Linked DNA regions of Homo sapiens: region 1 is linked to region 2. Evidence: promoter capture Hi-C in human tissues and cell types (Jung and others, 2019). All regions are on one chromosome and are shown on one strand. The core of a region is centred on a gene start or on the middle of the fragment in contact, and the rest is flanking DNA. Distances in the headings are between cores, read along the strand shown. Region 1 overlaps ROR1 (receptor tyrosine kinase like orphan receptor 1). Region 2 holds the start of ROR1 (receptor tyrosine kinase like orphan receptor 1).

The links. The method cuts DNA at HindIII sites, captures the fragments that hold promoters and counts their contacts. A contact is called where the count stands out against the background at its distance.
Region 1: a contact is called between a fragment that was not itself captured here and the fragment with the promoter of ROR1 in region 2, in 1 of the 25 tissues and cell types used here (thymus).

What each region holds. Positions count from the first base shown.
Region 1 is chr1:63,976,285-63,979,212 of GRCh38, forward strand. The region is part of intron 1 of ROR1 (receptor tyrosine kinase like orphan receptor 1); the gene reads left to right. Among named protein-coding and RNA genes, the nearest start is that of ROR1-AS1, 130 kb to the right of the region's middle. The HindIII fragment of the contact is 8,168 bases long and covers 1-2,928 here.
Region 2 is chr1:63,772,730-63,775,567 of GRCh38, forward strand. ROR1 (receptor tyrosine kinase like orphan receptor 1) reads left to right here and starts at 1,288. Exons shown (of 9, transcript NM_005012.4): 1 at 1,288-1,779. The coding sequence starts at 1,689. RefSeq lists silencers at 1,355-1,404, 2,189-2,483 and an enhancer at 2,349-2,838. The HindIII fragment of the contact is 10,974 bases long and covers 1-2,838 here.

The DNA of each region.
Region 1 (2,928 bases), core at 158-2,657, 200 kb after region 2:
GAAAGGATTGCATTTAGGCTTGAATGCAAATCTCATAATGCTTTTTGCACTCTGCTTTCTGCTACCCCACAGCCATCTCTCTATATGTTTAAGCATGAAAGTGGTGATTTCAGAAAACTGTTGATGCTCAGAGGGAGAAAATTGGCCAACTTTAGGAATCAAAATTCCAATATTGCTCCAGGTAATGCCAGAGAAACATAATTTGACCTAATGTGGTCCACATCTTTCTAGTCCAGTGTCAACATCATTCATTAACTAGATATACACTGTTATGTACTATAAAACCATAACCAACTTTCCACCATTTTGGAGAAATTTCTAGCATAAGGAGAATCTAGATCCCTGGTTTGTCGGTGTCATCTTTTTTCTTCCTCCTTTTGTCAGTCACTTGGTCATATTGCTCATTAGCACCTTCAAATGGATATAGGAAAATGAAACTACAGGTTGAGTATCCCTTATCCAAAAATCTTGGGCCAGAAGTGTTTTGGAGTTCAGAATTTTTTGGATTTTGGAATATTTGCATATATATGGTGAGATATCTAGGACACAGGACATGGGTCTAAACACAAAATTCATTATGTTTCATATACACCTATATTAGTCCATTCTCACACTGCTAATAAAGACATACCCCAGACTGGGTAATTTATAAAGAAAAGAGATTTAATTGACTCACAGTTCCGCATATCTGGGGAAGCCTCAGGAAACTTAGAATCATGGCAGAAGGGAAAGCAAACATGTTCTTCTTCACATAATGGCAGCAAGGAGAAGAATGAGAGTGAAGTGGGGGGAAAGCCCCTTATAAAACCATCAGATCTCATGGGAACTCACTCACTATCACGAGAACAGCATGGAGGTAATTGCCCCCCATGATTCATTTACCTCCCATTGGGTCCCTCCCATGACACATGGGGAATTATGGGAACTACAGTTCAAGATGAGATTTGGGTGAGGACACAGGCAAACCATATCAACACCTTACACACATAGCTTGAATATTTATACAATATTTTTTAGTAATTTTGTGCCTGAAACAAAATTTTGACTGCATTTTGACTGTGACCTATCACATGAAGTCGGGTGTGGAATTTTTCACCTGTGGTTTCATGTTGGCGCTCCAAAAGTTTTGGGTTTTGGAGCATTTTGGATTTTGGATTTTTGGGTTAGGGATGCTCAACCTGTAGTGAGTTGGCTGTCACTCAGCAGCTCTGGAAAATTACCTGTCTGCACTGAATTTCCTCATCAGTAAAATGGAAATGATTATAGTACTGACCTTGTAGGATTATTCTAAAAATCAGAGAAGTTCATGCAGCTTAGAACAGTGCCAGGCACATGGCAAATGCTATGGCATACTTAAGCATCTTCCTCTGTGGTGCCTCGTCATCACCATGTGATTGTGCCTTGCTTGTTCCTGTTTCACTTTTCAGAGGGAGAAAAGTGGCCAACTTTAAGAATCAAAATTCTGATGTTACTTCAGGAAATGCATAGAGCCAGAGAGACACAATTTGACTTAGTATGATCCACATCATCCCCTCAGGCTGAATAGTGGTGGCATGCACATCTATACCAAAATGTTTTACCTTTTTTGTAGAAGGAAAATATTTGTATCTTCTATTCCATATCTTAGATCTTTATAAGAGCACTTAAGTTCAACCTCCTAAGAAACTGCCAATTTTGTTGATCACGATAGTCTGCACAGATTTTCGTACTATTTAGTGTTGGGAGTGCCTTAGGGACCATCAACAACAGGCCCCTCCTTTTATCCATGAGACTACTGAGGCCTTGGAGGTTATTTGTCCATCCATGGCGGGTGCACACTAGAGGTTATCTGGTTAGTAGCCCAACTAAGATTAGAACCCAGGAATTTTGATTTAATCTCAAATGACCTCTTTTATTTCTGCATCCGGGAAGGAGAAGAGGAAAGTAAACGGGAAATTCATGTTATCTATGGAAAAGTTATCAGTTTGATGTTTATTAAATGATTTGTTTCAGGAGATTGTTTACAACTTTTATCTTCCTAGACAATAATTTTCTGTAAGAGTAAAGTCATGGTCATTAAGGTAGTCATATTAATGTATTCAGTAAGCTGTGTGGTGTGGATAATTTTGGTTTTGACAATAATTATACTTTTATTGAACACTTCCTGTGTGACAGATCATTTATGTTCTTTTCTGCTGAAAATTCAGTATGGGCTGGGATCACATTTATTTTGTAGATTATTCTGTCTGCAATTCCCAAATATAGTGGGCAGCACATGGTAAACACTTTGTAAATAATTGTAACATGTTGTAGTTTTGTTATAGCGTTATGCTTTGTAAAATTAAAAGTAGCTATATCCTTCTATGATCCAGAAATTTCACTTCTGGTTATATAAATCAAAGAAATCCTCATATGGTTCTATAAGAGAACATGTATAAGCATGTTCATCACAGCATTGTTGGTGATAGCTGGGAATTGGAGACAATCTGAACACACATCTGTATTAGTCAAGGTTCTCCAGAGAAACAGAACCAATATATATAAAGAGATTTATTACCAGGAATTGGCTCATGCACTTATGGAGCCTGGAAAATCTGAAGTCTGTGGGGTGCGCTGGCAGGTTGGAGACCAGGAAAGGGCCGATGCTGTAGTTTCAAGTCCAAAGGCTGTCAGGCCGAAGACCTGGGAAAGAGTGAATGTTGTAGTTCAAGTCTGAAGGCCATCTGCTGGAGTAATTCCCTCTTGCGCTGGGGAGGTCAGCCTTTTGTTCTATTCAGGCCTTTAACTGATTAGATGAGGACCACCCACATTATGGAGGGCAATCTTTATTCAGAACCTACCCATTTACATTTTAATCTCATCCTAAAGCACTCTCATAGAAATGTCAAGAATAATGTTTGACCACATATCTGGGCCCAGCCAAGTTGATGCATAAAACTAACCATTGCA
Region 2 (2,838 bases), core at 38-2,537:
TAAAGCTGGGTTCTTAGAGGCTACTGCAACAGCAACAACTCCCGAGTGAGTGCTTATCATGTGCCAGGCTCTGGTTACAGGCTTTAACTCTCTCAGTGGAAACAGCCTGAGTGCTGGCTTGGCTACCCCATGTCTGTGAGACTGTGGGCAAGTCATTTACTTTCCCTTTGAGTTTCAATTTCTAAAACTGTAATATGGGGATAATATATGTAAAACAGCTAAGAAGTATATACTTTTAATGACTCTTTTTAGTGTCAATGGAGGATTTGTGAGCAAATGCATATAAAACACAAGGCAAACAGGAGGTATTTAGTAAGTGGCCACGTGATTATTGAGAGACTATGGGCTTCTTCCTGTTCCTCCAGAGCAAGACTGACAGGTGTCCTATTACCCTTGCATCTTCAGAGCCTAGAGCACAGCCCTGAAAACAGCAGGCGCTCACCACTTTTTATGATCAAAGGCAGTCTCTACAGGGAAAGTCAAATCATTATGGGTATTTATGAATTACAAAATCCATAAAGTTAAACCAGGAGAAATGGACAAAAACACACTCATTGTAGAGGTCTTTAATGATCCCTTGGCTCATGGCAGAGCAGCTAGACAAAAAACAAACAAACAAACAAACATGCAAAGATTCAGAAGGCCTGAAAAAATAATGAATACAAAGAAGATAAATCGATACAGTATTCTATCTTCACATTCGGAAGACAAAAACACCTTTCAAAAAACCATGGGACATTGGCAAAAATAACCACAGATAATCCTCAATAAATCTTGCCAGGAGGCAGTACAGATGACATTGAATTCAGTGAGACTACAAATTAAAGACAAAAAGGCGAAGTATAAATTACTTGTGTAAGAACTCTCTCAACTCTTGGGTCCAAGAAGAAAGCAAAAGGGAAATTGTATGATAGCAATAAATGTGCCATTACCCAGAGTCACACAGCTAACAGTGACACAGCTGAGGCTGCTAGAACCTGGGTCTACTGTCGTCCAGCCACGAACTGGCTTGAGATCCCGGATAAGTCTCTCTGAGCCTCGGTTTCCCCTTCTGTCAAGTAGCCTCGAAGGTCCCCGGCGCTCGGTTCGGTGGCGAGTTTGAGGAGTGTGGGGGAGGGGAGGGGAGGGAGCGTGCCCGAGACGCGGGAGCCGCGACCGCTTTCTGCGAAGTCGGGGAGGGTGCGGGCGTTGAGAGGCTGCAGCAGAGGGCGCTGGGTCGCCAGCCTGGGCCGCGTCTCCCATTGGTCGGGGCTGGGGCGCTGGGCTGGAGAGTTGGTGGAAAGTGACAAGTTGAGCGAGAGAGGGAGCGTGGAGAGCTGGAGCAGCCGCCACCGCCGCCGCCGAGGGAGCCCCGGGACGGCAGCCCCTGGGCGCAGGGTGCGCTGTTCTCGGAGTCCGACCCAGGGCGACTCACGCCCACTGGTGCGACCCGGACAGCCTGGGACTGACCCGCCGGCCCAGGCGAGGCTGCAGCCAGAGGGCTGGGAAGGGATCGCGCTCGCGGCATCCAGAGGCGGCCAGGCGGAGGCGAGGGAGCAGGTTAGAGGGACAAAGAGCTTTGCAGACGTCCCCGGCGTCCTGCGAGCGCCAGCGGCCGGGACGAGGCGGCCGGGAGCCCGGGAAGAGCCCGTGGATGTTCTGCGCGCGGCCTGGGAGCCGCCGCCGCCGCCGCCTCAGCGAGAGGAGGAATGCACCGGCCGCGCCGCCGCGGGACGCGCCCGCCGCTCCTGGCGCTGCTGGCCGCGCTGCTGCTGGCCGCACGCGGGGCTGCTGCCCAAGGTAAGAGGCGCCCGCCGGCCCCCGCCCGCCCAGACCCCCTGACCCGTGGCCACCCTTCCGCCGTCCAGCCGGGCGCGGGACACGCAGGAAGCGCCGCGCTGGCTCCGGGGCGCGTCCGGCCACCCGCCACGGGGCTCGCCGGCGCCGCCAGGCCAGGGTTTGCCCCGGAGCCCCGCCAGGCCAGGGTTTGCCCCGGAGCCCCGCGGCGGGCCGGGGCGCGCCCAGGGACTCGTTCCTCGGTGCGCAGCAGCGATTGTCAGCGCTGACAGGAAGCGTGGAGGGGTTTGAGGGTCCTGGGGGTGATCGGGGCACTTCTGTGCAGGGCGTCCCCCCTTGTCTCCCTGGACCTCTAGCGCGCCCCAGCCGGTGTTCAGGCAAGTCTATCCTGCCCCCAAGTTGCGAGCCGGCCCGGAAGGCGCGGTCCAGGAGGGAGTTTGGATTTTCAGTGGTGCTCGCCAGAGCCCAGGCGGCTCGCGGATCGACGCAAACAAAAGCCCTGTCCTCCTGGGGCTCCGGCGGCCTCGCATCGCCACCGCCCCCGGCCCTCCGGCCCTCCCGAGAGTCATCATAGAGGCCAAAACTTGTGCGCCGCTGCAGCCGCTGCCACTTTGTGCAAAATGTGCTGTCAGAGGCGGCCTGCGGCTCCAAAGTGCTTTGGGTGTGCACGCGCGCGCGCGCGCGTGTGTGTGTGCGTGTTACAAACAAGAGGGGGAAAAGCCATCTAATGCATATTTGATTTTGGTAATCTCTAAAGACAATCGCAACAGTTAGAGAAAGACTTCACCGCAAGCCGGAGCGTCTTAGTTCGCTGCGGGAAGCTGGGGTCCTTGCTGCGTCTGAGCCGGTACACAATGAGAGGGAAGAGCCCGGCTGAGCCTGTGGAGACAACCGATTCATTCTTTGGAGGTTGGAGGGGGAAAGTTGATTAAAGTCTCCGGGGTCTCGGGCCTCACTTTTAACATGCATCCCTTGAGGGGGTGAGGAGCCTTTGGATTCTGCCCTCCCCCACTCCCAGCCCTAAACCTGAGCGGATAAATAGATCTCTGCTCTTTTATCATG